2 separate regions of the Homo sapiens genome follow, and region 1 is linked to region 2. The links are contacts of gene promoters, found by promoter capture Hi-C in blood cells and fetal thymus (Javierre and others, 2016). All regions are on one chromosome and are shown on one strand. The core of a region is centred on a gene start or on the middle of the fragment in contact, and the rest is flanking DNA. Distances in the headings are between cores, read along the strand shown. Region 1 holds the start of SRSF3 (serine and arginine rich splicing factor 3). Region 2 holds the start of H3C4 (H3 clustered histone 4).

The links. The method cuts DNA at HindIII sites, captures the fragments that hold promoters and counts their contacts. A CHiCAGO score of 5 or more calls a contact.
Region 1: a fragment that was not itself captured here is called in contact with the fragment with the promoter of H3C4 in region 2 in 1 of 17 cell types (fetal thymus); the score reaches 6.7 in fetal thymus.

What each region holds. Positions count from the first base shown.
Region 1 is chr6:36,594,134-36,600,573 of GRCh38, reverse strand. It overlaps SRSF3 (serine and arginine rich splicing factor 3), which reads right to left and starts at 6,212. Exons shown (of 6, transcript NM_003017.5): 1 at 6,093-6,212; 2 at 3,606-3,813; 3 at 1,591-1,725. The coding sequence starts at 3,811. RefSeq lists enhancers at 125-624, 625-1,126, 2,908-3,408, 3,409-3,909, 5,925-6,154 and 1 more. The HindIII fragment of the contact is 3,118 bases long and covers 2,190-5,307 here.
Region 2 is chr6:26,192,577-26,198,826 of GRCh38, reverse strand. H3C4 (H3 clustered histone 4) reads left to right here and starts at 1,541. Exons shown (of 1, transcript NM_001376937.1): 1 at 1,541-2,043. The coding sequence starts at 1,577. The coding sequence ends at 1,987. H2AC7 (H2A clustered histone 7) reads left to right here. Exons shown (of 1, transcript NM_021065.3): 1 at 1-43. It also overlaps the pseudogene H1-12P. RefSeq lists enhancers at 320-379, 410-469, 1,212-1,812, 2,191-2,300, 1,813-2,414 and 4 more. The HindIII fragment of the contact is 2,796 bases long and covers 1-2,169 here.

The sequences.
Region 1 (6,440 bases), core at 2,499-4,998, about 10 Mb before region 2:
AACTGTTAGTAAAACCATTTAAAGGTGATAGGATTCAACAAATTTTTGCCAGAAAAGCTAATCTGTTAGAGATATTAAAATTTTTAGTTTGGCATCTTGCACATGCAAATAAGTTTCACTTGAAGGCCTAGTTACATTACGAGTTCCCTATCACCCTTAAAAGTTTTTCAAGCAATATATATGTACGTTACCATTCAATTATGCACAGCCAGCCTTTGATCCAGAAAAAAGAATTACTTTAAGCCGCTTACTCCTTATTTTAACCAGCAGTAAACTGTATAAGCAGGAAAAACTTACTAGTTTTGGGTTTCAACAAGCTAGAAATGGTGAGGTGAGGCTGCCGGACTGACGGCCAGGAAGAATTTGCTGAAAAGGTTTTGCCAGATGTTGCGTTGGATTTAGTTGGTTGGCGAAGGGGGTGTTGTGGATTTTTCCTGCTTTTTTGTTAGCCGAAGGCTGCTGCTGTAGTTGTTGTGAAGACATTTGGTAAATAAACAGCTGAGCTGATTGGCCAGGAATGTGTGGGCGGTCGAGGTGGCTGCTGCCGATTTGGTTAAGGTTGGAGAGAAGGCTGAGAGAAAACAGCATGCTCGGGAACCAAAGGGCGGTGCAACCTGACGACTGGCCAGCCTGGGTCATGTGAAACGACACCAGCCAAGCTGAATGGGGCGCGCTGGTCACATGACGCTGAAAGGGCTAGTTGACTGGCTAATGCAGATTCAGAGGGTGGTGAGAAGAGACATGATGGTGACTCTGTAACGGGGTTCATTTTTATTAATAGATGGACCAAAAAGCACAAAAAAAATGAAAAACAAGCCATCAGTACAACCATCTATTAGCTAACAAATACTCTTTATTATGATGGGCAACAGTGTGCTGTTGTTTTTCAAAATAGCAAAAGGGGCAAGATTTTGAACTCCTGTCTCCTAGAAGGACTCCACTCACCTGTAAGAGGTAAATTTAGTCCTATAGAAACTATTTTGGAGGTCTGAGGAGATGTGGAGTTAGCACCCAGACAATACTGCCTGGTCCAAGAATGATGCCATTTTCAATTATAAAAAAACTGAATTTTCTCCTATTTGGGATTGAAGAACAGATGACTGGGATTACTTCTTTTTTAGCCCCCTTTATTGGTCAGTGACTTAAGTTAGTCTCAGAATGATTTCTACTTTACCAGTTGTAACATTAAAACAGCTGCCTGTTTGATAAATATTACAATTGTGCTAATAGTAGAAAACACAAATTTGTGAAGAGCTAGAGTTGAATGTAATGTTTGTCATTATGGAGCCAAGAAATGGAAAAAGGCCTAAACTGAAGTATAAGGGAAGATTTGGAAAGATGCAACTAGAAAGATGAACTAGAAGACAGATCCAAGATAGAAGTTACTGACTACCAACATGAACAGTGACCTAAAGACAAAAGCCAACACTCAGCACAACTCACATACCCCAAATTACACCCAACAAATGTTTCACAGAAACCTCCGATTCTTCCAAAGTTTAAAACCCACCAACAAACTTAAGAGAAATACCTGCTCCTACTAGCTACTCCATTACACCAATACCTCTTAACAAGCTTTCTCTCAAGTACCTGCGACGAGGTGGAGGACTCCTCCTACGATAATCATCTCGAGGGCGACGACCCCAAGAGGGAGGTGGGCCACGATTTCTACTTCTTTTTTCACCATTCGACAGTTCCACTCTTACACGGCAGCCACATAGTGTTCTGAGGGGGCAAAGATATTAAACTTAAAACAGCCTGACTTTCTGACATGCGTATTAAAGCCAAAAGTACTCTCAGTTGGCTATTCTGCAAAGAACACACCTAAGTGTCTGTGCAATTTAACATCAAATTTCTAGCTCCCTTATTTTTACTAATATAAAATGAGCTTTGGCCAGGCACGGTGGTACACGCCTGTAATCCCAACACTTTATGAGGCCGAGGCAGGCGGATCACAAGGTCAAGAGTTCGACACTATCTTGGCCAACGTGGTGAAACCCTCGCTCTACTAAAAATACAAAAAATAGCCAGGTGTGGTGGTACATGCCTGTAATCCCAGCTACTCAGGCGGCTGAGGCAGGAGAATCACTTGAACCCAGTAGGCAGAGGTTACAACGAGCCAAGATCACACCATTGCACTCCAGCCTGGGGGACAGAGCAAGACTCTGTCTTGAAAAATAAAATAAGCTTGTTTCCCAGTTTCAAATTAAAATTTCAATTAATTTCAAATTAAACAAATAGGATTTTCTAAAGTACCAATTCACAAGGAAGTCAAATTCTATTTTATCACCTAATTGTTAGAGCCAGTCTGATTACTGAGCTCAATGTTAATTTGTTAACAGTTGCAATTTAAGTGTGAAGATCCATTTATCCTTGAAAAACAAGTTCTCCTGTATCTTCATTATGATTTCTTCCCTTGAAGTCCCTGCACTTATTTCAGTTATTTACCAGGCTGTATTTATTGGTCTCCCCCTGCCCCACTCCAAGTAAAAAATCAGTTCAAGACAAGACAGAACCATTTTGGCCATTTTACAGCACCCTCTCCCCTCAACAGTCAGCACAGAAGAAATTATAGCTGTGGCCAGGTGAGGTGGCTCATGCCTGTAATCCCAGCACTCAGAGAGGCTGAGGCAGGAGGATGGCTTGAGCCCAGGAGCTTGAGGCCAGCCTGGGCAACACAGACTGTCGTCTGTATTATTTTTTAAATAATAAATATACATTTTTTTAAAAAAAGAAATTATAGCTCACAGTAGTAAAAAAAAAAAAAAAAGACCATTATTCCTCACCCTTAATACAACCAGTCATTAAATTTAGATAAGCTATCATATTTGAAGAGTGACTGGGAAGAGGTGGGCCCTGGAAAACTTTACTACAACCTGCTTGAATTGACCAACCTTTCATGCAGCTTTACAGTGAACACTCAGCTCCTTTTTCCCATTATACTTCCAAATATGAGGAAAGGGGGGTGGGGGCATGGAGGTCAATACTCAGGCCTTACTCAGCCAGCTAACAGGACACTATTAACACAAAGGGAAATAGTAAGTGATTCACTTTCTGGAGTATTTCAAACACATAAAAGTAAAGGTACAACCAACCCATGTAACCATTTTGTAAACAATTTTTTAAACAAGGATCAGTTCACAACTACTCTTAAAAATATTTGATCCTGGCTGGGCACAGTGGCTCCCACCTGTAATTCCAGCACTTTGGGAGGTCAAGGCGGTCAGATCACCTGGGGTCAGGAGTTCGAGACCAGCCTGGCCAACATGGTGAAACCCCATCTCTGCTAGAAATACAAAAATCAGCCCCGCATGATGGCACACGCCTGTAGTCCCAGTTACTCAGAAGGCTGAGGCAGGAGAATCACTTGAACCCCGGAGGCCGAGGTTGCGGGGAGCGGGAGACTGTACCACTGCACTCCAGCCCAGTGACAGTGCAAGACTCGTCTCCCCACCAAAAAAAAAAAAAAAAAAAAAGATCCCAATTGTATCTAAAGATACAATTGGCCAGTGATTGGGAAAGCCATCTAAGAGCCACATATCCTGTAGATTTTAAATATGAAAAACACAAGCAACACATTTTTATCAGCGTAATCATTAAATCACCTTCCATCTAGCTCTCGGACTGCATCAGCTGCATCTCGGGGATCTTCAAATTCAACAAAAGCAAAGCCGGGTGGGTTTCTAGCAACCCACACACTTCGGAGTGGTCCATAGTAGCCAAAAGCCCGTTCCAATTCCGTCTTGTTGCCATTGTTTCCAAGATTGCCTACATAAACCTTACAGTCCAATGGACAGGAATCACGATGCATTTCTGTAATGAAAAATACCAAAAATATTCATTCATCTAAACATCTACAGTTAAAACCACAGATCCTTAGAAAGAACTCCATTAGAGAGGACAAGAGAGTTTAAGGTAGCACGTAAAGAAAAAAAAATTACAAAAATGCTAGAAACCAAACAAGAAATGTTACTGCTAAGCACCCATTTCCCCCCCCCCGCCACCCCGCCCCATTATCTTTACTCCTAACCCTCAGGAAGCCAGCAATTAGTGAAGAAAAAAACAGCTTCCTTGGAACGTTGAGAACAACTGGAGGAGCATTTACCACCATCTGGGCCGTGAGTTAAGAGACTTAACCTGTTATTTCATTTAATCCCCAAAATAAAGCATTTCTAGAAAAACAGAAGAGAATTCTGTTGGGGACTCAAAACTAAATAAAACAATGATGAAGAAAGCTAGTCCTTAAGGTTATACTACCAGGCAAGCGATTCAAAGTACCTACATAAGCCAAAACTTACCAGCTTTAATAAAAATAAGGCCAACGATTTTCACTTTTAAAAAAATGCCCATGGACCGGGCGCGGCGGCTCACACCTGCAATCCCAGAACTTTTGGGAAGCCGAGGCGGGCGAATCACGAGGTCAGGAGTTCGACCCAGCCTGGCCAATATGGTGAAACCCCGTCACAACTAAAAATACAAAAATTAGCCGGGCATGGTGGCGCACACCTGTAGTCCCAGCTACTCGGGAGGCTGAGGCAGAACAATCGCTTGAACCCGCGAGGCGGAGGTGGCAGTGAGCCGAGATCGCGCCACTGCACTCCAGCCTCGGCGACAGAGCGAGATTCCATCGCCAAAAAAAAACCACAAATAAATAAATAAATAAATGCCTATTTTGGTCATTTGGAACTATAGGAACAAGGCTAGTATCAAATGTCATTAGATAGACCAGAGTCTTACGCGGTAAAAATTTATCAAGCAACGAGACCAACTTTACAGTTTTTTAAAAAATGTAAACTCATAGTAGCACTTATTCACAGTAGCCCAAAGATGTTAACCCAAATGTCCATCAACAGAAACGGATAAGCAAAATGTGGTATAGACATAAAATGAGTATTATTCAGAATGATGTACTGACAAATCCTCCAACGTTGGAAAATCTTGAAAACATTACGCTAAGTTAAAGAAGCCAGACATAAAAGTACACGATTCCATAAATACTAAATATCTAAAATAGCTAAGTTCAGAGAGACAGGAAGATTAGTGGTTGCTAGGGACTAGAGGAAGGGGGACAGGGAATCTGGGAGTAAGTGCTCAATGGGTAGTAGTCTCCTGCGGGGGGAGGTGACGGAAATGTTTTGGAACTACGTGTAAGTGATGATTACACAACACTGAATATACTAAATACCACTTAAAGATAATTTCACTTTAATAAAAAATTACAAAGAGATATTTGCTACTAAAAAATTTACTGCACTTTGGGGACTTATTTTTTTGTTCTTCCTTGGCGGACTTGTATTTGATAAAGCTTTATTACTGAGTCACTTCGACGATGAATCTGATAAACTTGTAGACCAGTTTCAATTACATAAAAACCATCTACTCAATAATTCAGCTGAAGTGCTTTCCATAAACACCACGTTCTTCTTACTCTGGGCTTGTCTAATTAAAATATCCAGTCCAGACACATCCTATTTGCCGTGACCACACCCTGTGCCCAGGAGTAAGTTCTAAGACCAAACCACTGGTGAAAATTTTTAAAAACACTGCTGGCACCTGTCTTAAGCCTCCATTTTAATGGGAAGCGATGAAAGAACGAATCTTAAGTTCAAGGAAGATCTTTCGGTCTTAGAAAAAGGTGATTAGATTCAGGCTGCAAAATCTGAAACTACATGAAAGTAAGGTGACTACGGGGGCCATTTAATATGAACTGAAAGGTCCGGTCTTGGTTAGTGACTTTACAAAAACATTCTGAGAAGCTTCCCAATTAAATGAGGGGCCAAAAAAAAAAAAGGCGCCATAAAAATAAAAAGGCCGTGACCTGGAATACAACTCGGCTATCGGCTCCCCTTTGTGGTTCCCAACTCCCAGGTAACCCCCATCCTGGCTCATGCCCCAATGAGGAATATAAAGACTTCCACTCCAAGACTAGGAAACCCTCCGATGGGCCGGGAGCCCCCGCCACCGCCCCGTGCTGAACGTCACAAAATGGCGGCGGCGCCTCTTTGTCTCAATCTGGCGCCGCCATTGGGCCTGGCTCCTTGGTACTGTTAAATTCCATTTCCACCTCATTCCCTCTTTCGCTGGTCTCTTACCGAGATCTAGGGTTAAAAAATGCGGCGGCTCAAATCCACACGCTCCGATGAGTCTTCCCGCTTTCCTCCGGCCCAACACCAACCAACTCTCTCACTCACCCGGCGTCCACGAAATGGCGGACCACCGCCTTCTCCTCGCCTTTATTTATACGCCATACTGGAATCACATGATTGGACGGGCTCCCCCAATGAGAAGCAGAAGAGGCCGTGACGTATGGCTACAAACGCAGCGAGAGCCGCGGTTGCTGGGAGCGCGCTCTGGCGGTTGCGCCGGGTGGGTGGAGACGTGCGTCGGCGCGCGCTCGTTGTAACAGGCCTGGTGCTCCCTCGAGCGTTCCTCCCGGTCTG
Region 2 (6,250 bases), core at 292-2,791:
TTAAGGAAGCAGTCTTAACAAAGGCTCTTTTCAGAGCCACCCATGTATTCCTTAAAAGGGCTCACATTTTCTGTGTAAATAGCTATTTTGCAGTTTTCTTTAATAATTTTTCCATTTATAAGTGGGTGTTCTTAACACTGAATCGTGAAACTAACCGTCCATTTTAAAGATGCCATAAAAATACATAAGCAAATTGGCGGGGCGCGGTTCCTTACGCCTGTAATCCCAGGACTTTGGAAGGCCAAGGTGGGCGGATCACAGGGTCAGGAGTTCCAGGACAGCCTGACCAACATGGTGTGAAGCCCCGTCTTTACTAAAAATAAAAAAATTTGTCGGGCGTGGTGGCGCGCGCCTGTAATTTCAGCTATTTAAGAGGTTGAGGCAGGAGAAAATGTTGAACCCCGGAGGCGGAGGTTGCAGTGAGTCGAGATCGCGCCACTGCACTCCAGTTTCGGCGACAGAGCGAGACTGTCTCAAAACAAACAAAAACCCAAAAAAGCAAACTAATTAAAATGCAAAGAGACTTTATGTCACATGTAATTTAAATCGATCAATGCAGCGGCTCGTTAGGATTGCAAAGCTGTTAAAAGGCCTGAGACATACAGGAGAGAAGTTAATGTTTGTCAGTGTTTACATTTACATAAAAATATAGTTAGTGACTTAAAGCAACAGAACCAGAACAAATGTTTTATTGTCTTTTGTATGCATCTTAATGATACGAAATAACCTGTAATTTGTAAGTATTTTTTGGGTTTGTTTTTGCAAGCCACTTTCAACTCTACTGAGCTAACCCTAATTAATTATCAATAGGAATACAAACCTACATCCCCTGGAGCCAGACGGCCCTTAGGTGGAGCTTCTTAGCACAGTGTTCAGCATGACTAAAAGGGCACACTGGTCTTTTTGTGCCATTTATAAATTTGGCTTTTTTTTTTTTTTTTTTTTACAGCAGATTACACAAATACCAGTTGAACTTGTAAAAGATAAGAGTGCTTTCATATGAGGATGACATATTGTGGTGAAATTAAATGTGTTCATGTAGCTTAACATCAGGTTTCATATTGTTACTTATGAGTTAATAGTCATGGTGCATTTGGAACAAATTATTGAAAATATCTCCAAGTTTAAATAGACAAATCAAGATATGAAATTAACCTTTCTAAACTTAAGAGGGTAAAAAGAAATCACTTGGCCAATCACAACTAGCGCGCGTCTTTTTAAAACGTTGATCAAAGCCAGTTTCAGCGCCAACATTTAAAAAAAAATTAAGACACGTCATCCTAGTAGCTAGACACAATTTTGCCAAGGAAAACCAAAGTACGTTTTAAATAAAAGCTAGAAACATGGCACAGAGGGGAAAGGGTTGAAAACACCAGCAGTTAAAGATGGACGGAGGAAAGTTTTAATATTTGGTCTACATGCAGGAGATGTTCTGTCAGGGAGTGGGCGTCTCCACCAATCGAGCTGCAGGGGAAAGGCTGCCTTGTCCAATCAGAACAGGGGTGTCTTTATATATACGGGTACGAAAGGCTAGACTTTCGTTTTTTCGTCATTTAGCAGGGTTTAGAAGTTCGCAATGGCTCGTACCAAGCAGACTGCTCGCAAGTCCACGGGTGGGAAAGCGCCACGCAAGCAGCTGGCCACCAAGGCTGCTCGAAAGAGCGCTCCAGCCACCGGCGGCGTGAAGAAGCCCCACCGTTACCGGCCCGGCACGGTGGCTCTGCGCGAGATCCGCCGCTACCAGAAGTCGACCGAGCTGCTGATTCGCAAACTGCCATTCCAGCGTCTAGTCCGTGAGATCGCGCAGGACTTCAAGACTGATCTGCGTTTTCAGAGCTCGGCGGTGATGGCGCTGCAGGAGGCCTGCGAGGCCTACCTGGTGGGGCTGTTTGAGGACACCAACCTATGCGCCATTCACGCCAAGCGAGTGACTATCATGCCCAAGGACATCCAGCTTGCTCGCCGCATTCGTGGGGAGAGGGCGTAAATTGTCTTGTGAATGTGTGCTAACCAAAACCCAAAGGCTCTTTTCAGAGCCAACCACCTTTTCTATAAAAGTTGCTGTTTACTGTTGCTGTCCGTAAACTGGAACCTCTGTTCACTCAAGGTAAGTAAGCATTCTTGCCTCTATCCGTTCCCCCTCCCCTCACGGAATTGGTGCAAAAAGCTTTATTATAATTGGGGAGTTCTTAAAACAGCCTTTAAGGTACTCTTATATCTCCTTGTTTTGGGGGCCGCTTTCTTAGGCTTGGATGCCTCCGGCTTGGGAACTTTCTTGGCCACCTTTGACCAACCAACCTTCTCCAGCAGCCTCCACCAGCAAAAGCTTTTGGGGTCCGCTTAGTACTCTTTTTCGGAATAAGGACGCCCCAAGCTTTCTTGGGCCTCTCGGCTGCCAGGACAGCTGTCTTGGGCATGACTGCAGCGGCTTTTCTGGCCTCGGTCTTGATTTTCCTAACACTGCCTGGTTTGGCGGGAATGAACCTGAGGCGCTGCACTCCTTAGCACGAAGATGCCCTCGTTTGTTTTCAAGGCCCAACTTTATTCAAATAATTTTTAAAAATTTGTATTTATTTTTAGGGACGAGGTCTCACTGTGTTACCCAGGCTGGCCTCAAAACTCCTTAGCTTGGCCAGGCGAGGTGGCTCAGGCCTGTAATCACAGCACTTTAGGATGCCAAGGCGGGCGGATCACGTGATGCCAAGAGTTCGAGACCAGCCTGCCCAACACATTGAAACTTCGTCTCTACTGAGAATACAAAAATTAGCCGGGTGTGGTGGCACACGCCTGCAGTCCCAGCTACATGGAAAGCTGAGGCAGGAGAAGGGCTTGAACCCGGGAGGCGGAAGTTGCAGTGAACCGAGATCACACCACTGCACTCCAGCCTGGGCAGCAGAGCTAGACTCCTTCAAAAAAAAAAAAAAAATCCCCAAGGACAAACAAAACCACCAAAAACAACTCCTTAGCTTAAGAGATTCTCCCGCCTTGGCCTCACAAAATGCTGAGATTACAAACGTAGGCCACCGCGACCGGCAAGGGCCGATCTTCATATCGTAGCCGCCAACACCTACTTGAGCGCGGCCACAGAGAAGGCCGCTGCGCTTCTTGGAGACGGCTAAGTCATTAGTGATGAACTCACATACCGGAGGGGCCTGGACATCTTGCACTTCACTGCAACTTCGGACTTGCAACCTTTTTCTTTACTTCAGTCTTTGACTTGGGAGATAGACCAGGAGTCACGGCATGTACAGTTTCGGACATGATTGTAGGTTTGGATATCTAACAGTTAAAAAAAAAAAAAGTCAGGCTGCGAGTGTGTCTGTGATTACGTGTGTGTCACACACAGACACGCTGCGCGCTGATTGGTTCCCAGCTCAGTCTTTCAGCTTGGCAGCAACCTAGTCTCAACCCTGTTTCTGAGTTGTGTTTGCGGAAATTCAGAAAATCAAAATAGTTTAAATTTCCTGAGGAGGAATCACACCAATTCTATTCTACAATGAACTGGAACGGCTACGGTGTTATGATCTTTACATTTTCTTTCTCTAGTTTTTACTTAAGGCAGCCTCGGCCTTTATCAAAAGTTCCAACTTTCAGAGATTCACAGTTCAGAGGGACAACTTCTTGATTTTCATTTAAAATATAAATTCTTCCATTCGTGTCTTCAATTGTTTGCTGTCTTCTAATAATAGCCTACACATTTTTGGCTTCTCATACATTGAACAACTACTTGATTTTCATTGAGATTTAACGAGGAAATCTGTTTTATATGAGAAGAGAAACAACAGGTTCTTTTTGAATTTCTCCACAAGAACAGCAGTACGGATACTTAGAACAACAGCCCTTTCTGATAAAATTAGCTGGGGCTGAAAATATTTCATGATAGCTTCTTGTAACTATTTGGACGTTTAGTTACTTTGGGAGGGTTCCAGTAAATGTTCAACGTTTCCTTGGGAAAATGGGAAATACAATGATCACTGATTCTCCTGATATTGGGACTGTTTGCATAGCTGAACTCAGGAGAGATCCACGAAAGGACATAAAAGAGACAGAGTTTGACTCATTTAAGGGTCAAAAAAAAATTTTTTTTTTAAATTTTTACTGGGGGAAATTTGTTATTAAAATATTCATGAGTCTTTGGGTTCAGGGGTCTGTCATGCTTGGTGACACGGGGAAAATAGACTTTGGTAAACTATTCAAGTACCAGGATCAAAGAATATACACACAAGCACCACACACACACAAAATTCCCTAGAGAGAGAAATTTAAAAAACAGCCATGTTTCATATTCAGTACTACATTTCTTGTTTAAACAAGGATATAGGCTTATAGTGATGAAGTACAGCTTATGTTCGATATGAGAAGAAAATGGAGTGATGGCAGAAAGTGAATTAACTGATTTTCTTCACTCCTCAATGTCTTGAACGTATGCTGATCTGGGGAGCATATACATTTCTGTTTTACTAAGACTATGAAGGAGATAAATGCTGGGAACAGACAGAGTAAAGCCCAAAAGGTGAGGGTTTCACACTTTTTGATCTCATCAAAATACAAATGACTTCATGTAGCAAATTAAACTAGGACATGAACAAATTAATAAATGTTAATAAAAATTAAAATCAAATGTTTGAGATGAGACATGAGCTAAATATGAATCACATTTACTTTGAGTGTGTATTCACTTTTTATGGAGCCCATGTATTTCTAATCTTAAAATGGCTTTGACCCATTTTATATTTATATTTTATACTTATATTTGATTTCCTGGAGCACCAACAAAGGAAGAACTGACTTGTAGCCTTCCAACTGCAGGAATTCTCTGAGGTACTGTCCTATTTGCCTTCATGGGTTTGTGAGTTAGTTTCTTACAGGTAACTAAAGTCTCTCCCTTCAGGCCTGTCCTCTTGCCTAAGTATCAAAGTTGGATTTCTGGATGGTTGCTGGATATCTGCTTGTTCATCTTCTATACCAGACTCTCAGTATGACCATCCTTATCTAAGTAGCTTCTGTCTAAGATTGCTGGATATTGGCTTCATTGTTTACGTATATCACACCCTCAACATATCCAACCACATCTAGGAAGCAACCTTTCAAGTGACATTCCTATATATTCTGTTCACAACAACACTATTGCTTTGTTAACTGACACTTCAATTATTCCCTTTCCTTTGTTGCCAAATCCAATCTGTTACTAAGTTTGGTGAATTCTTCCTAAATTCATCTTTCCTTGTTTATTTGCCTTTTCATGGTTGTAATTCTTGCTCTTCTATCTCTTCTTTGGACTGGCTATTTTTATAGCCTTCTTATGGGTGGCTCCTTTCTCTCATCCCTTTGTGCTGTCATTCATTCTCTTCATTGCTCTGGGTGAAATATTCTTCATATGAGCTTCAAATTTATATGCCCCATCTCCTTGTAGCTTTATGTTTTCTTCACTTAACTGGTTTTCTCTATTCTTATAAGCCGTGAAGAAAAAGCTGGATTCATATAGCTTTAGATTTAAGAATAATCTTAGTATGGCAATCAAACTCTTTTATATGGCCTTAAATCAACAATCTGGCAGTGTGGTTTAGTAGAAGCATGGAATTTGCAAACATGATGACATGTATTTCAGTCTTGTTTTGCCCCTTAGCAGCTATGTGATCTTGGTCTAATTATATTACCTTGCAGAGTATCTTTTTTCAGTTTTTTTCTTCTTTTTTTCTCTCTCCCCCACCCTGTTTTAAACTTCAAACTAATCTAATGACATACTTTGAAATTTTTATATTTTTCATTCCCCATCTCTCAAAATAGATGAGATCTCTCTCTGTTTTGAATTCTTACATTGATGTCTTTCTTTTTTTTCTCTTTTTGAGATGGACTCTCACTCCGTTGCCCAGCCTGGAGTGCAGTGGCGTGATCTTGGCTCACTGCAACCTCCGTCTCCCAGGTTCAAGCGATTCTTCTGCCTCAGCCTCCTGAGTAGCTAGGACTACAGGCGCGCGCCACCACGCCCAGCTAATTTTTGTATTTTTAGTAGACACTAGTGACAGGGTTTCACTGTATTGGCCAGGCTGATCTCTAACTCCTGACCCTGTGATGTGCCCGCCTCCGCCTCCCACAGTGCTGCAACTAGAGGCATGAGCCACGGCACCAGGCCCCCTACATCGATTTCGTAAAAGGCCATTATAATCTGTCTCGTATTATCTGCATACTTGTCCACTTTTAAATCTTCCTAGTAGTTTACAAACATCTAAAAGTACAGATTAGTATTATA